5 separate regions of the Homo sapiens genome follow, and regions 1, 2, 3 and 4 are each linked to region 5. The links are contacts of gene promoters, found by promoter capture Hi-C in blood cells and fetal thymus (Javierre and others, 2016). All regions are on one chromosome and are shown on one strand. The core of a region is centred on a gene start or on the middle of the fragment in contact, and the rest is flanking DNA. Distances in the headings are between cores, read along the strand shown. Region 1 overlaps TNIK (TRAF2 and NCK interacting kinase). Region 2 holds the start of LOC124906303 (a long non-coding RNA gene). Region 3 overlaps EIF5A2 (eukaryotic translation initiation factor 5A2). Region 4 has its middle 13 kb from the start of RPL22L1. Region 5 holds the start of ECT2 (epithelial cell transforming 2).

Region 1 (3,587 bases), core at 886-3,385, 1.5 Mb before region 5:
AGGGCTTAAGTCTGTGTATGGCTATGACATCACATGTGTGTAGAAAATAGCAGGATATGCAATTGGAGAAGACAAAGTCCCAATGAAGAACAGCTTCCTGTGTCACGTAAGGAGTACGATGTTAAAGAGTTTACACTTGGGAGTTACAAGATCAGACTGGATTCCAGAAAGGTCACCCTGTCACCATCTTCCCCACTCCTTGCCCACCTTCCTACCCGCTACCACTCAGATCCAGGATTGCAGTTCATCTGTCCTCTACCAAGATTTGGAGATGATTAATCCAGTCAGGATCTGAAACAAAGGCTGGCAGTGAAAAGAGAATAGATCCAAAGAATAAATAAGTAGAATCAACAGGACATGTAGATGGTGTTTTGGAGAATTGAAAGAGAAACAGAAGTCCTCCAGGAAGATAACATCTCTGGCTTGTACAATCTAGGTGGGTAAGAGTGCCATTCTTTGAGACAGAAGACTCGGGAAAACATGAAGAAGGCAGGAAGTGACTTCAGTCAAGGACATAACAAGGTTTTCGGGGGCCGGGTAGACATCCAGACAGATGTGTCCATTAGTCCAGTGGAGAAGACTGGGCTTCAGGAGGTCAAGTCAGTCTACAGAGACAGAAGGACTTGCAATGAACCCCAAGAAAAAACAACCAGCGGGTGGGAAAAAAGAAAGCAGCAATATGACTGCAAATCAAGGAAAGAGAAAGTTTCAGGAAGGAGGATGTGATGAGTTTCAAAAAGGAGGGTATGGTCAGAGCCAGTGCTACAGAAGACCAAGTGAAATAAAGACTAAAAAGAGCTCATTCAATCTGGCAATTATGAAGCCCCTGGGACCTTACACAGCAATGCAGGGACAGACATCAGTTTGTATAGAGTGAAGGAAAAAATGGGAGGTGACTATGTGGAGGCAAAGAGGGTAGAAAAAAGTTGCTTGGTCTGAAAAGAGATGAAACTAGTCCTGAGGTCTCGCTGAAGATGACTGCAGGCTGGGAGGAAAGGGGCAATTCTGGGCAAGGGAGGAGACAACAGAAACAGCAGGAGGAGTCCTCTCACACAGAGGGAAAAGCTTTACATTGAGTTAGGATGAAAGAAGGTAAGAATGTGGGAAGAAGATGAGTTTGAGAAGAAAGGCAGAGGGAGACCTGTGGGATATTTACCCAATAAGGGATACCTGTCCAATGGCTCCAGTTTTTCTAAAAGGCATAGAAGAAGGTCACCTGTGGAGAACAATGAAGGCAGGGGCAGCGGAAGGGAGGAGAGGAGAGTGGTGGAGATTGGGAGCAACTATTCCAGGGAAAACAGGAGAAGGAACTGAGCAGGTACATACACAGTTGATTATTAAGCAGTGCTGAGTTGAGCTGTGCAGCCCAAATGCAGAAAAATAAACAGCTAGACTGACCTTAGGGAAGGGGTCTGCAAGGTGGATATTATGGAAGAACAAAGGATAAAGGAGATAGTACATGTTGGCTAAAAATGATTAAACTAAGAAATCATGAGGCCCAAGGCTGGAGAGACAAGTTATTAAAGTTTCATGGGGACTGAGAGACTGACAAAAGACCCGAGGGCTTAGTCAACATCAAAGAACAGGTGTGTAGGGTGTGAGGGAGTACAGGCTGGAAGCATCAAAGGCTGTGGTCTAAGATTGGGATGCTGTACATTTAAGATTTTAAAAGCAAAACAGACCTGGGTCATAAAAAGTCCAGGTTGTGAATAATAAGAGTGGGGTGTCATTCCAGGTAATAGCAATATAACTATAGTATCAATATTATACCATTTTACAAGTGAGACAAGGACTAGATGACTTATTCAACATCACAGCTGGTTAATGGCAAGGCTAAAGTTTCAATCCAAGTCTTTGCTGCCAAGTCTTATTGACCTTGTCATACAAAATCATTTTACTTGGTACCTTTTTCTTTCAGCCTTTGAATAAGAAATAATAAAATGGTGATTTTGCTTTCAGACTAGGACGACGTTATAAATGAAAGAAAGCTATCAATCTGACTTAAAATGCAAGTGAAAGTAACGGTTTTATTTTCAGAACTCTGGTTATTACCCATAGTGTAGGAGCTTATGAAATTCTGTTAAAGTGTATCTTTGCATACTGTTTTCTTATTATAGAAACATTAAAAGTAACTAGCTATTGAACATGGCAACAAAAATAGTTAAGAACCACTTTATCTCATAAAACATAAATTTCAGCCTCCAGTGGCATGTCTGCTATTATTTCATAATTCTGGGTCCCACTCCCTATTAAGTCCAAGGCTGTGTCAGGATGATTTAGGAAGATAAAGCAATGTTACACCACATATTTTCAACCCAGGTACCTTTAGGCATACATCCAAATGTGAATATCAGATCTGTACAAATGTAAATGGAGTTGTCATTTTCTTTGATTAAGAATCACTCAGGCTCTCCATCACCATTACTAGACAAGACAGAGTGGCCTGCTGCCAACTTAAGGGGGCTGGAGGGATGGGGCAGTGGTGTGGAAATGGCAAATTAGGGGCCTCCTGCAGTGAGTTACTGCTCACCAGTCCTGGGCAGCCCTTAGGACATTATACATTAAGACACATATTCAAATGGAATGATGGTGGTACACATCAGCATAATTCACCTCAAATAATTCATTACAAAAAGACAAATGAACAAATGTCAAATTTGCTGCCTATGATATTAGCTATTACTGTCTTGTACGATATATATTAAGTGAGGAGCCTGCAGGAAAGCATATACAGTTATTCCATAGCTATTTATTTCATCCACTCTTGAGGCAAGTAGCGTCTTTCCCTGTCAGTTGGAACCAATCCAACCCACCCAACCCAACCTACCTAGACTCCCTAACTGTTCCTAGCTATCCTGGTTTCTTACTGAGCTAGTAACTAATAGTTTGCTTTTACTGTATATCAACTTGTCAGGCTAAGGTTTTACATGATTACTATTTAATCCCCACATTGCCCATGTGAAGTAGGTGCTACTACCACCCCCATTATACTAATGAAGAGAGCAAAGCACAGTCCCAAAGTCAGCCAGCTGGTAAGGCCAAGCTCTTAGCGATGCCTGCATGCTTCTGCCTTTGTTACTCCGCCTTTCAAATTTCACCCAACTTCTGCTCTATAGCTTGATGGCACATGTTCAGGAAGAATTCCCATTTACTTCAGTCCATACTGATTACTCCCTTCTCAGAAGTAGCTCATCCATACCTGGATGGAAGCTTTGCTTTCTGGTAATGCCAGCACCCTCTAATTTTCATGGGACAGGCCTTGGAGAGACTGACCCAGTCTTGTTTGCCTGGGAAAATGGTGTTGATGGATGGACAGCTTCTTTGTGGTAGTGAGATTTGGGTTAAATAGCTCCAGTACCTTAAAAATTCCAAGATGTAACCTAAGCCCTAGTCCCCCAAAATATTCAGAAACAGGGATTCCTAGAAATCTAAATCATGCCCTTTAAAAATTTCGTGTCCAAACCTGATAGACTTAAAAAATTAGAAATGAAGAATATTAGAGACATTCATGTCCACTGATATTAACCCCTTCCATCCTACTTCTCTAAAGCCATGCAGCTAGCTCAGAGAAAAGTAGGAACTCCAAC
Region 2 (3,636 bases), core at 912-3,411, 1.3 Mb before region 5:
TTTCTGGGCTGAGCTCGCCTCATATGTAATAAAGCACACTGGTGGCAACTTTCATCTCTTTTAATACTGAGATGTCTTGAAGCAAGAATGACTCAAGCCCCAGGTTTGAATGAGTAAATTGTTTGCTGTAGCCTATGTATGTATACACACATTTTCATACACCCACGTGGATACGGTTTATATCCATAATACTACACATAATATATGTATCCACATAGATAATACAAAACATACACACAACTCTATAAACCTCACATGCAGAGCCATCTGAATAACATGTATGTTTATACTGACCCCTTGAGACATGCTCTGATGGACACAGGTTACTCAGAGAGGTTACCTGTGCAGGACAACCATGTGTCCTAGGTGATTTCAGACAGTCGTTTGCCTGCAGAGTAGGCATTGAACCAGGGCTGGACAAGATGAATTCCAAAGGTGGCCTAGAGCTCCATGGTTTCATGTATCACAAGCTTACTTGCATGAAGTAGTTTCGCCATTCTCAATAAATAAAATTCCCTGACCCTGGTGAAATTATTCCTTTCTGCTATTCTTTTGTACTCAGGCAGAAAATGTATTATTGATTTCTGATTCCACCACAGAAAGTGTGACTTAGAGAAAAGAGCACTGAATGAGGAGTCAGGAAATCTAGATTATTTCCTCAAACCACGCTCCTCGCTGTCCCCTCCCCTTGTTACTGTGTGACCTTGAACAACTTACTTCACGCCTCTGGGCTTCAGTTTCCCAAGTGTTCAATGAAAGGAGTGGCTGAGTGTTCTACAATTCTCTTTCCAGCTCTGAATCTATAAAACAATTCCAGCCCATCCCTCAAGATTTAGTTTATCTCTGAGCTCTAAAAATCAGGGCTAAAACTGGATTCAAAGTACCTATTTTCTAACCAAAGAAGATCCTGCTTCACTCACTTTTAAACCATGCAAATCTTGCATAATTTAAATGATCAGTGCTGTCATTGGTTGCTCTGGTTTAAATTATGCATTGTTGCTATTTGGGGAAAATTTAGACTGGGTCCGGTCTGGAATCACTGGCTGAGAACAATAAGCCCCCAAAGTGAGAAGGATAAAGGCCTCTCTAGACAGGATCTGCTTTTAATGCTTTGAGCCCAGGGTTTACAAAAAGAGCATTGACTGTGTACATTAAAGAGCCACCGAAACAGCGAGGGACTGGTAAGTCTGCAGCAAATTCTCCCAGAAGCCACTGACCTTGGCTGCATTTCAGGGGTCAGGCATTCCCCAGGAGGGGCTCAGCAGGCAGACTTTACCAAGGGCTTAGGAACAAATGAGACATCTCATCTAGATGAGGCCACCTCTCCAAATGTGGCAAGGTGGAGATGATCTGCCCTCTGATTTGTGGAGATTACCTATGTGGCCTTTGGACCCACTCCAGCAGACACACCTCACCCACAAGACTGGTCAAAGACCCTGGCCCTCCAGGATATAACTGTCTCCACATCTGCATCTAAGTCTTCTAGCCAGCAGTTCCTGGTCCCCAAGCTAGCTGTTGCCCTCTCTGTTTCCACACCTCCCAGCAGGCAGAAAAACAGAAGCAGAGCCCTAAGCTGATAGCCCAGGCCACAAAGAGCAATTTCAGTGAATTGTGCAAAGATATATTTTCAAAATACAGATCACAAGAAAGCACATCCCAAGTGTGAACCGCAGTCGTCCGCCCAGTGGGCCCTCACCGGTTGCTCCCCTGCCTGCAGGCTCCGTGCTTGGTATCTCAGAAAACCTTCCCGAGGAAAAAGCCCATAAGGGACAAGTCCCGGCCCAACTTAAAATCACATCAGACTGCTTTCCAGTAGAGGAGCAAGGTCGAGATTCCGGCCCAGGGAAATCACCGCAAGCCCTGCGCATTGTTCAGACCCCTTCCCCCTTTGCCACTTCCCGCCCCCCACCCCGACCTCCGACCGATTCGCAGCACCCCACCCCCAGTCGGGGCCATCCATCCACCTGATTAACTCGCCGGCAGCAACTCCCAGCGTAGAAAGTAGGGCAAATGAACACACACAGTCGGTAAAGCAGGAAGCCACAGACCTGGCCAATGCACCCACCCTGTTACCAACCCCACCCCGCTGCGCAGGGGGCAGCCGGTTCTTGATGTGGCATTTCCACTCCAGGGAAATAGACAGCTTCCTGTAATAATGCATGAATGAGCTTTGGCTGCCCAACTATCAGAACAGCCCATTTCAAACGGCATCTCTGTTTCTTCTCAACTCCTTACTTGCCTTGCTGAAACCTCATCTCTTAGCCCAACAGATTAAGACGAAGAGAGAAAGACTTATTCAAAGAGATGTGGAGGAAAAGGTTTAATTAAGGAGACCAAAGAGAAAGTACCACTTTGATCACAAAGGTAGCACTTTAATATATCAGTGCAGATAGCGGCAATGTCAGAAGTACTAGGAATCCAGGTAAATGGCCCCAAGATTCAGCATCAATCTAACAATGTATTCCTCAGGAGGGCGTGTGAACTTCCATGCTTCATCCATCCTGGTGTCTCCCTGTAGAGAGCCACCATGAATTCCTTCTCATCCACCCTCCATACATCAAGTATATGCACTCGCTTTCTTTTTAATTTTATTTTTGGTTCGGGAGAGGAAGAAGCAGTCCTTAAATTGGTGTCCAATCCTTCTCAGACACCCGCTGCTGCCACCATCCCCACCCCTCACCCCCTTCCAGGCAGGCAGCATCTAATTAAAATGGCAAGAAAGCTCTGCCCCCTTCCCCAAAGGAGTGTGTTGGGATCGGGAGTTGGGGGTGGGGAAGCGTCGAAGCAGCACTTGGATTCCTGGTATTCTGATCTCAAAACAACAGCAAAATGGATTCTATATCAGTGATGTCTTAGTCAATACAATGAAACGGCGTCTGAGGTAATTCACGTGAAGGTAAACGCAAACCAGTGGGGCTGGGGGGAGGGAGGTGCTCTACAAAGGACTGGCCACAGACACGGGGAAAACACACACAGACACACACACACACACACTCGCACACACTCCAGGGAGTTCCGGTCTGATTGAGGAAAAGCAGAAAACACATCCCTTTCACCTGCTTAAGTTCAGCCATAAAACTGAAACGTTACAGCCACAAAGTCAGAAAGAACAGGCAGGGCTGAGTTAAAGCCATAAATAAAGGTGAGTGGCAGACTGGCATTTAAGGGAGCGCTGAGAGGGCGCCCGGGCGCGGGAGGTAGAAAAGGGGGAGGGGGAGGCAGTTGCCATCTACAAGACCAGCATAGCAATAACTGCCCCCTTGGAGCGGCAGGTTCGGCTTCGCGGGGACAGCCAGCCTCACAATGTCATCTTGCAGGTAGCTGGAAAACGTGAGGGGCCAGTGCCTTTATTCACGCTGGCATTCTTTTTGCAGAAGGGACAGTCGGGTCTCGCGCCTTGGCACCAGACAACTGCCCGGGGCGTGTACACACACACACACACACACACACACACGCACACACGCCTTTCATTTTAATGCTCTTACACCGGTATAAGATGAAACTGGCATAAGCTCTACGAGCCCTCGGGAGAGCCTAAGCCACGGCCAGAGGAAGACACGTACCGCACAGCCCCTGCCGTAGGGGCTCAGCCAGGAGCACCTCAGCAACCCCGAATCAAAACGGGAATCCAGGTTC
Region 3 (3,510 bases), core at 631-3,130, 1.9 Mb before region 5:
AGAAGGAAAAAAGCAGGCAAAACGTTATTCAGAAGACAATACATATAGAAGATATAATTAGTTCCTCATATATTGTATATTTGTGGATATTTTGTACATATGGACTTCTGAAAGGGGTATTCCAAAACAAGCTACTTTCTTTACAGTTTTCTAAAGCAGAATTTCTCAGAGTGGTTTGTAAGACAACTTCCAGGGAACAGGAAAAATAACTATAAATGTTTGAACACTTACTACCCGTTACATTTCTGAAAGTTGTAACGAAGACAGTAAATCTCCTTCACTCTTTAACATTCCACTAGCATCATTTCTTACCTGTAAGAATAGCTCAGGGCTGGGCGCCTTGCTCAGGCCTGTAATCCCAGCACTTTTGGGAGGCCAAGGTTGGGGGATCACCTGAGGTCAGGAGTTCAAAACCAGCTTGGCCAACATGCTGAAACCCAATCTTTACTAAAAATACAAAAATTAGCCAGATGTGGTGGCACGCGCCTGCAATCCCAGCTACTCAGGAGGCTGAGGGGAGAATCGCTTGAACCTGGGACGCGGAGGTTGCAATGAGCCGAGATCACGCCACTGCACTCCAGCCTGGGTGACAGAGGGAGACTCCGTCTCAAAAAAAAAAAAAAAGTCAGGTGCAGAGCTTCAAAACAAATTTGGGTTTGAGAGTAATGCTGATGTAGCAAAAATGAACTTTGATACTTTCTTTGATAATGAGTCTCTAAGGGTTTTATGGAAAACCTGCCTGAGAGATCATTTTCAACATTTTAGCAGTATTTTTAAACCACATTCCATATGTAGTATTTTATGTTAACTAGTTGAGGTCAAAGTTTTTATAAAATGGTTTTCAAAAATAATCCTTCTCTAAGTCTTTACCTGTACATCTTCACCTGCATTGTATTTTCCCTCTATTTCTTTGCCTAGTTCACCTTCTGGCAGTTTAAGATCCTCACGAACTTCACCAGTTTCTGTCAGCAGGGAAAGGTAACCATCTTGAATGCATATCAGCTATTAGAAGAAATTATATCATTTGTGCTGATTAGATTATATCCACTTCTGTGTAATGCTTACATAGTTAAATTGCAATTGATATTAATTCATATAAGTATACAGTAATATATTAATATTCTTGGTATTTAAAATGCTAAAAATATAAAAAATATAAAATATGTACAGAATGGAAATATAAGTTTACTCCTCCCGGTACTTCCCATACCCAATCTCTGCCTTGTTAAACAGTTTAGGTTTCTTTATAGTGTATTCCATTTATGTTCACAAAATAAATATAGTTGCTGTTTTGTTTTTTTTTTTAATCAAAATGGGATATTGGGCCAAGTGCGGTGGCTCACGCCTGTAATCCCAGCACTTTGGGAGGCCGAGGCGGGCGGATCATGAGGTCAGGAGATTGAGACCATCCTGGCTAACACGGTGAAACCCCATCTCTACTAAAAATACAAAAAATTAGCCAGGTGTGGTGGCAGACACCTGTAGTCCCATCTACTTGGGAGGCTGAGGCAGGAGAATGGCGTGAACCCAGGAGGTGGAGCTTGCGGTGAGCCAAGATCGTGCCCCTGCACTCCAGCCTGGGCGACAGAGCGAGACTCTGTCTCAAAAAAAAAAAAAAAAAAAAAAGAGATATTATAAGTACTTTACAGTGAGCTGTTTTGACTTAATAATATGTCTTATAAATACTTTCTAAGCAGAAAATGTAAACCTACCTTAGTTAACTACCACATATCTGCATGGACATACTATTACTGATTTAACCAATTTCACATTACTGGGCATAAAAGTTATTTTTGCTATTACAAACAATGCATTTTCTAATTTGAGTATGAACAAAATTAAGTGGAAAACTTTTGGTCTTCAGTCAACAACAACAACAACAACAAAATCCACTAGTGTATGGATAACATTAGTGAAAAAAAAAAACCCAGTTGTCAACCCAACCTGCAAAAAAGCACGGTTTTGATACCACTGAACTTCTTTTACTACAGGAATGAGTAAACAACCAACCTCCACTCATTTATTCTATTAATAAAAGCATGTACACTATTAGTATGCCTCGAATCCTAACATGTTTTATAAAAGGCTACCATCCAGAATACCAGCTACTAATATCTACAAAAGGAGTCAAAGACAATGGTCCTTGAACCCCTGTAACCACTATGATATAACCCAGGCATATCGTTGGGATTGCTCTCCTCCACATACACCATCTACCAAAACTGCCTATGGCTCTCCACAGAAACTCCATCTATCACAGGAAATTTGAGTTTTTATATGTCTAGAAATCTCAAAAATAAGAAATCCTACAGAGCTACAACAAAGACTTTTAACTAACCTCTTAGACCCTCAAATATTTGTGAGGTGGCTGGTAGAGAAGTGGGAGCAAGGAGGTTGAGGTAGAAGTGTAACTTTTTAAAAAATATATATATTTTTAAAGATGGGCGTCTCATTATATTGCCTAGGCTGGCCTCGAACTCCTGGGGTCAAGTGAGCCTCTGCTTTAGCCTTCCAAGGAGCTGGGACTATAGGTGTGCACCAATGCACCTAGCTTGAAGTGTAATTTTTAAACAACCACAACATTCCAAGACAAATCTTTCTGATTTCTGTTCTTTTAGTAATTCCCTAAAGCACAGCTTGTCTATTTCAAGAGTTAAATGTTCGTACTGTGCCACTAGTGACTGAAACACAGAAGCCAAATAATAATACTGATATTTTGAAAATGATGTATGTAATGGAGCTATTTTATTTTTTAAGAGTTAAGAATCATAAACTGTGGAATGAAATATATAAAGCATTTCAGATGTACAAATATATAAAACATCTAGTAAAACAATGCATTTACAAACATTAAACATTAAGATAAATTGCTATATTAAATACAATTAGTTTTCAAAAATAAAACTAAGCTACGAAAAACAAAAATAATGAGAATGAATTATTTAATCTTTGATATGGTTTGGCTCTGTGTCCCCACCCAAATCTCATCTTGAATTGTAATCCCCACATGTCGAGGGAGGGAGCTGGTGGGACGCAATTGGATCATGGGGTCAGTCTCCGCAATGCTGTTGTCATGATAGTGAGTGAGTTCTCTTCAAAGTGTTTAGCAGTTCCCCCCTCACTTGCTGTATCTCCTGCTGCCATGTAAGATGTGCCTTGCTTCCCCTTCGCCTTCTGCCGTGGTTCCTGAGGCCTCCATAGCCATGTGGAACTGTGACTCAATTAAATTTCTTTTCTTTATAAATTACCCAGTCTCAGGTAGTTCTTTATAGCAGTGTGAAAAAGGACTAATACAGAAAATTGGTACCAGGAGTTTGGGCCACTGCTATAAAGATGCCTGAAAATAAGGAAACAACTTTGGAACTGGGTAACAGGCAGAGACTGCAACAGTTTAGAGGGCTCAGAAGAAAGAAAGATGAGGGAGAATTTGAAACTTCCTAGAGACTTGTTGAATGGATTTGAACAAAATGCTGACAATGATATGGACAGTGAAGTCCAGGCTGAGGTGGT
Region 4 (3,333 bases), core at 275-2,774, 1.9 Mb before region 5:
AAAAAAAGGTATATCCAATATTATGAGTTTATAGTGGGAAAATTATCCCAAAAATCTTACTTTGTTTTGTTTCAGAATAGAAAGCCCCAAAATACCTTGGTTGGTGGGGATATTTATGCATCAGTTATATCACAGGGTGGCAATTGGAACTGGGAACAAGGAACATGAGAAATATCTGTGTTTATCAAAAGGAAGCAGGTGTTACTAAAGCCCGAGAAATGCTGACCTATTTTTAACCACTTCTTTATATACAGAAGGGGAAACTGAGGCCCAGAGGGTGAAGAGATGTGTCCAAGGTCACAAAGCTAGTAGGCAACAGAGAGGCAGGATGTGTGACATGGCCCCGTGTGTGGGAGGAGCACTGGGTGAGGAGTGAGAGGTGGGTGCCATGGTGTGACCATGGGCAAGCCAGTAAACCTGAGACCTGGTTTTTTCATCTGAAAAATGGGAAGATAATATTGTGCCACAGAGGGCTGTTAAGGGATCAAAAGAAAAGAGAAAGCCATTTGTAAATGCAACACATTGTTTAAAACTGGCCTTCCTGGCATTTTAATCATCCAGCTTGTAAAAGAGCACACACTGAAGCTATATATCTAGACTCCAGTCCCTTCAGCATGACCACATACAAGGGTTTCCAGACAGTAAGTAGGAAAACCTATGCTAAGCAAAACTTCCTGGGAACTTTTTCATCAGGGGTAATGGTATAGGTGGGTAGTCACATGGGAAAAAGGTATAATTGGATCCACTTCTCAAATTGTAAACCAGGATAAATTCCAAATAGAATAGAGACCTACATTTTTTTAAGATGAAAATATGTAAGTACTAGCAGAAAACATAAATGAATTCTTGATAACGGGGAAAGCTTTTCTAACCATGGCAATAAGAAAAAAGTTAATTGATTTAATTACATAAAAATAAAAATAATGCTTCTATAGCAACAACTACAACAAAACAAAATGAAAACTAGTAATAAAACAAAAGAAAAATAGCAGCTGGGTATGGTGGCTCACACCTGCAATAATAGCACTTTGGGAGGCTCAGGCAGGAGGATTGTTTGAACTCAGGAATTCAAGACCAGCCTGAGCAATATAGCAAGACCCCATCTCTACCCAAATTTTTTAAAAAATGAGCCAGGTAGTGGTGTGTGCCTGTAGTCTCAGCTACTCAGGAGACTGAGGTGGGAGGATGGCTTGAATCTACGAAGTCAAGGACGCAGTGAGCCATGATCCAGCCTAGGCAACAGAGCAAGGGCTTGTCTCAAAAAAAAGTTAAAAAACAAAAATACCATAAGTAGGGGAAAAAGACAAATGAGAAGCTGAAAAAAGAAATTGTAATTTACATCACACACAAGGAGTTAATAGCCTTAACATAGAGGGAGCTTCTAAAAGTAAAAAATTAAAAATAAAAACAAGAATTCCACAGATATATATTAGAGATATAAACAGGCAGCTCACAGAGAAAGATATGCAAATGACCCTTATTGACATTCAACCTCACTCACAAATACAATGCAAAGGAAAATTACCCTGAAAACCAGGTCTCACCTGTCAGTTAAGCCTCAAATTGGACAAGGTTATCTCTTGGTGTGTCTACAGGAAAACAGATTTCACAGATTGCTGGTGGGAAGGCTAGTGGGAGAGCAAAATGCTACAACCCCTGTAAAGGGAAATTCAGCAATATCTAGAAATTACACATTCATTTATCTTTTGACCTGTAAGTCTCAGGTTTACAACTCCTCTCTAGGGGCTGGGCACGGTGGCTCATACCTGTAATCCCAGCACTTTGGGAGGCCAAGGCGGGTGGATCACAGGTTCAGGAGTTCGAGGCCAGCCTGGCCAATATAGTGAAACCCCTTCTCTACTAAAAATACAAAAATTAGCCGGGTGTGGTGGCAGGAGCTGGTAGTCCCAGCTACCCAGGAGGCTGAGGCAGGAGAATTGCTTGAACCCAGGAGGCAGAGGTTGCAGTGAACTGAGATTGTACCACTGCACTCCAGCCTGGGTAACAGAGCGAGACTCTGTCTCAAAAAAAAAAAAAAGACAGAGAAACTAGACTTTTCTAAATATACTTTGTTTTGTAGATTGGACTTTAGAATCCTGTAAATATTTTACAGAATTATAAAAAACAAAGTGGGCTTAAGCAAACTTTTTAATCAAAAGCAAAATGAAACAAATGACTCTGTGTATCAAGCTTGTTCTACGCCCACACAGAGATGAATCATTTCTAGTGACTTTAAAACACGAAACTTTGTTCATTTCTAGTGGGATATACCATAAGGACAAAAAGAACTGCAAAACAATCTTAAGCTGTAAAGTCATTATATTATAGGTAGTTTTGTTGGTATTATTTTATTGAAACTATTATGTGTATATTGTGAGATAAAGCAAATGAGCATTTGTGTTGGTGTCATTGAGAACTGGAACTTTCAGCATGGGAAAAAAGAGATATGGTCATACAATTGATGAAATAAAAACTCTTTTATCCTGATTTTGAATTGGAAGCATCAGAATAAACATATCATTTCCTCTTAAGAACAAAAATGTATTCCTTCACTCTGTCCACTCAAAAGGCCTAGAAACAAACACCACCCCAGTAATGACAAGCATCTCCAGCACCTAGAAAATAGTCCAGAGCTCCTTGTAGAAATGGATGACTCCTGGCCAGGCACACTGGCTGACCCCTGTAATCCCAGCACTTTGGGAGGCCAAGGTAGGAGGATCACTTGAAGTCAGGAGTTCAAGCCCAGCCTGGCCAACATGGCGAAACCACGTCTCTACTAAAAATACAAAAGTTAGCCAGGCATGGTGGCACATGCCTGTAGTCCCAGATACTCAGGAGGCTGAGGCAGGAGAATCACTTGAACCTGGGAGGCGGAGGTTGCAGTGAGCCAAGATCGCGCCACTGCACTTAGCCTGGGTGATAGAGCAAGACTCTGTCTCAAAAAAACAAGCAAACAACAACAACAAAAAAACGGATGACTCCAGATCTGAGGCAGGAAATTTGGAAGAGCCTAGCACATCCTATTATACCAGAAACCAAATAAGCAATAAAATCCAAATAAGATCATGCCAAAAGGATACAAGAGTCAACCTGAAGAGGCTCCTATTGGCTCAGTATGAGACCATTTGCATATTAGTAAGTGTAACTACCAAAACTAATAAAACAAAAGAACTGCCAGACTGCCCGAAGAAACCTACAAAGGGGCCTCTTATAGTGACTTCAGTTTTATGGGATAATTGTAATGCTTCCAAAGCTGTTGTGCTCCAAAGTCTAGCCACGGGTATTGCTATTGATTGGGCTCCAAAAGGGCATTATTCGCAAGATTGCTCCGGC
Region 5 (3,584 bases), core at 802-3,301:
TGTGTAACATTTGCCTTTGCAGTACTAGCTTTTTGAAAATACCTGAAGATGAGGGATCATGTTTTACTTTACCAGACACCAGCCCTCTGCTAGGTGCAATTAAGTGGCATATGATCACCTATGCACACGATTATCTGAAATACTCCTCTCCACATTGCTTTCTTTGAGCCTGCAGACAGATCTATACTAGACTTTATTTACACTCATCTATTATTTCTGGGTTCTAATGCGGGCTAAAATATTTATTAGGAGACACTGGGTAAGTTACTTAAACCTTTCCTACAGTTTCATGGTATCATGGGACTATGATACCTACTTGTGGGTTGTTTTAAGGATTAAATAAGGTATAAAGTGCATAGTAAAGTATCAGTATGTTCATTCTCTTTCTTCTCTCCCTTATACTGTAATTATCTGTTTATCTGCTAATTTCCCTCACCAGATTGTGTGGTCCAGACAGGCAGTTTTCTATGCCTTATTCATCTTTATAACCCCAACAAGCACAATGGCTGTCTTAAAATTAGTAAATATTTGCTGAGTAAATGAAGACCTAAGAGAGTGAAAAAGGTTGTATTACCCGTTTATTTGTTAATCTAACTGCCACACATCCCTTAAAAGAAATCAAGTACAGCTTTTGTTAGGGAAGCTTAAAATTCATGGCAATGATACCATACACAGTTAATCATTAGCTTTGGAAAGTCTGTTGAGCAGAAAGCGGTGCACAAAGGAAGTAGGGCTGCTTCCCACAATAGCTTAATATGTTTTCAGTGATGAACGTTTTTGGAATGCTGGGCACACCCGACTTCCAAATACGCAAGCACATTCCAAATGGAAATTTCAATTACTGTTTTTCTTTTTTTCTGCCGTAACAGTTATCACAGCATTTTAATGAAGGTCAGACTTAAATACTGACAAGCAGGGAAACCAATAATTACCAGATTGCTTCATTCATTTTGTGGACAGCATTATAAACTTTTCAGGCATTCTAAGATTGCCTGACAAAATTAGAAAAAATTGTTAAGTCCCCACAACCTGCTTGAGATGCTCACAAGTGTTCCATCCCAAAGTACACGTTTGCCTCTTCTTATTGGTATTTAGGTTCTGGCATCTGATTCCCCTTTCTTCTTCTATTTATATTAGCCTTCAGGTGGGAACTATGGAAAACCCACCTGGTGGGGGTGTATTTTTCTTAAGAGATTGTGTTATATGGTATCATATTTAGAAAATAAAGAAATTATTTTCATAATAGCAACGCTAATCACAGGAAAAACTTGATACATTCTTGACTAGACTTTAGGGGAAAGTACAAGTTCTTAGTGGGCGGAGGGGGGCAAAGACGAAGCAATTTGGCTCCAAAAATTCTAGAATCTCGTGGCATATTTTTATCAAATTCAAGCTTATCTTTAAAAAAATCCGAGAATTTTTCTAATTTCTAAGAATTGATTCTAACCCGCGATACTCCCTAGATGGGAGCGCAGTGCTTTAAATAATAGCATTTAAATAAGCGGCTGCTGATTTGAAGTCCACCTGGGGAGTCCGAGTTCTAGGACCGGTCCTTGGCCCTGCCACACGCCAATACAACCATCAAAGTCAAAATCCCTTAACTCAAATTTAAATACATTCCTAAAGCAGAAAGCATCCCGATAGGAAAATCCTACAGCTCACAGCAAGCAGCAGGGAAACATTTATCTCTGGCGGCACTGATTTAAGCTTAAAAGATTTGGTATCGTTTAAAAAAAAAAAAAAGCTGGGTGGGGCCGAGGAGAATCCACCCAAACTTTCCTCAGGAAGTAGGATGTTTACTGAGTAAATATGCGGTAGTCACAGAAACACCTGCTACTCCTTTAAGACCTCAGGAGCCACCACCGCCACCTCCTGGCCACATCCGGGCACTTCTCTGCAAACTCCTGGCGTCCCGACGCCCGAGTCGTTGGGCTTATTTGAAACACACGCACAACCAATCAAGCGGCGCCTGCCGGGACTTGGAGAGCGTCGACCAATCACCGCCCCTCTGGAGACTCCTGCCTATGGGAAAGAGGTTGACATCACGCGCCAATCGGCATGGCTCTTAGAGAGAGCAGCTTAGTTTTTGAATCGGTTGTGGCGGCCGCCGGCGAGGAATGGCGGTATTTGTGAGAGGAGTCGGCGTTTGAAGAGGTGGAACTCCTAGGGCTTTTTTGAGAGTGGTAAGGACTCTGTGTGAGTGAGAGAGGTGCAAGTGGGCGAGCGGCTCCAGAGCCAAGGGCTCTTTTGCCTGCGGTCGACGTCCCCGCCCCTAGTGACCGCGAATTCCGGAGCGCCCCAGCTCAGGCTTCCCGGATCCGGGAACTCCCTCGCCGCACCCCACCCCCAGCAGCCGGGCCCTGACGCGGAGTGGGAGACCGAAGCCCCCAGTATTGCTGGGCATCTTCGCCCTCACCTGTTGGCTCTTTTGGACAGAAGAGTGTGGGTGAAGGGAGGGAGTTGGGAAAGGGATTTTGGCAAGCCGCGCAGCCCTGTGGCTTTGGGGGCCGGCACTTGCAGCCTTTGGGGGCTTATCTCAGAGTGCGCCGTGGTTTTATTCTAGGATTCATCCTGGCTTCTTTGCGGGAAGTTTAATTTTTCGTTTTTGCAAGATAAATCCAGGCCATCCGCCCCTCGTCCTCCCCAGCCACCCGGCACAGATGTGTCCGGCTTAGTGGTTAAAGGCGCAGCCTCTGGATTTAGCCGGGCTTTGAATACCTCTTTTACCCCTTACTAACAGTTTGACTTAGGGGAAGTTGCTTAACCTCTCTGTTCCTACGTTTCTTCATCCATACATTGAAAATAATAATAGTACCTGCCTCTTAGGATTACTGCAGAGATTAAAAGGTTTAGGACAATGTCTGCCACGTATTAAGCGTTAAGTAAATGTCAGTTGTTAATAGTAATGTTATTGTTAATAACACCACCATTATATCTTGGATTGCATTTTAGTCCTTCACCTTGGAAGATGATTGCCTAAAAAGTATTTAAGTAAAAGGAAACTTGAATGTTTGTTTACATGGCAAATTTTATCTCTGGGATAAAAGGGGGCATGTGTTATAGTGTGTTTAGTTAGAAGCTCCTTGGGTCTGTTCTTGGGTGAGAAGCTGTGTAGGTTTATGAACACTGATCCTATTGTGCTTATTTTAAAGGCTTCTGGAATACAGTAATTTGAAAAAAAGTGATTAATATATTTCCATTTCTAATCTGACTGTTGGATGTTAGTTATGTCATCAAGTTACCGTAGTGCATCTCTTTTTCTCTATACATTTTGAAGCTGTTTTGGCAATAAATTGATCATATACAGTATCATCAGGGGCAATTTTAATTATTAATCATCTGCTTTCGATCATCTGCTATGCTCCCTCCCTTTTATTAATCATCTGCTTTTGATCATTTGCTGTGCTCCCTCTTAAAGAGGGAGGCATAGGAGAAAAATGTAAATATTTTCAAGAAGTTTTTTTTTTTTTTTTAGACGGAGTCTACCTCTTGTTACCTAGACTGGAGTGCAGTGGCACGATCTCGGCTCACTGCAACCTCTGCCTCCCGGGTTCAAGCGATTCTCCTGCCTCAGCCTCCTGAGT

Evidence for each region. The method cuts DNA at HindIII sites, captures the fragments that hold promoters and counts their contacts. A CHiCAGO score of 5 or more calls a contact.
Region 1: a contact is called between a fragment that was not itself captured here and the fragment with the promoter of ECT2 in region 5, in 1 of 17 cell types (total CD4 T cells). The highest score is 6.6, in total CD4 T cells.
Region 2: a fragment that was not itself captured here is called in contact with the fragment with the promoter of ECT2 in region 5 in 2 of 17 cell types (fetal thymus and total CD8 T cells); the score reaches 7.9 in fetal thymus.
Region 3: a fragment that was not itself captured here is called in contact with the fragment with the promoter of ECT2 in region 5 in 1 of 17 cell types (total CD4 T cells); the score reaches 6.1 in total CD4 T cells.
Region 4: a contact is called between a fragment that was not itself captured here and the fragment with the promoter of ECT2 in region 5, in 1 of 17 cell types (total CD4 T cells). The highest score is 5.2, in total CD4 T cells.

What each region holds. Positions count from the first base shown.
Region 1 is chr3:171,247,007-171,250,593 of GRCh38, forward strand. All of the region lies in intron 2 of TNIK (TRAF2 and NCK interacting kinase), which reads right to left. Among named protein-coding and RNA genes, the nearest start is that of MIR569, 140 kb to the left of the region's middle. The HindIII fragment of the contact is 2,145 bases long and covers 1,064-3,208 here.
Region 2 is chr3:171,456,250-171,459,885 of GRCh38, forward strand. All of the region lies in intron 1 of TNIK (TRAF2 and NCK interacting kinase), which reads right to left. It overlaps LOC124906303 (a long non-coding RNA gene), which reads right to left and starts at 1,922. Exons shown (of 2, transcript XR_007096168.1): 1 at 1,697-1,922. LOC102724479 (a long non-coding RNA gene) reads left to right here and starts at 2,969. Exons shown (of 3, transcript NR_189068.1): 1 at 2,969-3,142. The HindIII fragment of the contact is 3,387 bases long and covers 469-3,636 here.
Region 3 is chr3:170,893,422-170,896,931 of GRCh38, forward strand. EIF5A2 (eukaryotic translation initiation factor 5A2) reads right to left here. Exons shown (of 5, transcript NM_020390.6): 4 at 871-1,002. Among named protein-coding and RNA genes, the nearest start is that of EIF5A2, 13 kb to the right of the region's middle. The HindIII fragment of the contact is 8,845 bases long and covers 1-3,510 here.
Region 4 is chr3:170,855,523-170,858,855 of GRCh38, forward strand. No RefSeq gene overlaps it. Among named protein-coding and RNA genes, the nearest start is that of RPL22L1, 13 kb to the right of the region's middle. The HindIII fragment of the contact is 1,328 bases long and covers 861-2,188 here.
Region 5 is chr3:172,748,675-172,752,258 of GRCh38, forward strand. ECT2 (epithelial cell transforming 2) reads left to right here and starts at 2,052. Exons shown (of 25, transcript NM_001258315.2): 1 at 2,052-2,183. RefSeq lists enhancers at 1,588-1,857, 1,958-2,007, 2,028-2,287 and a silencer at 2,398-2,467. The HindIII fragment of the contact is 5,304 bases long and covers 1,706-3,584 here.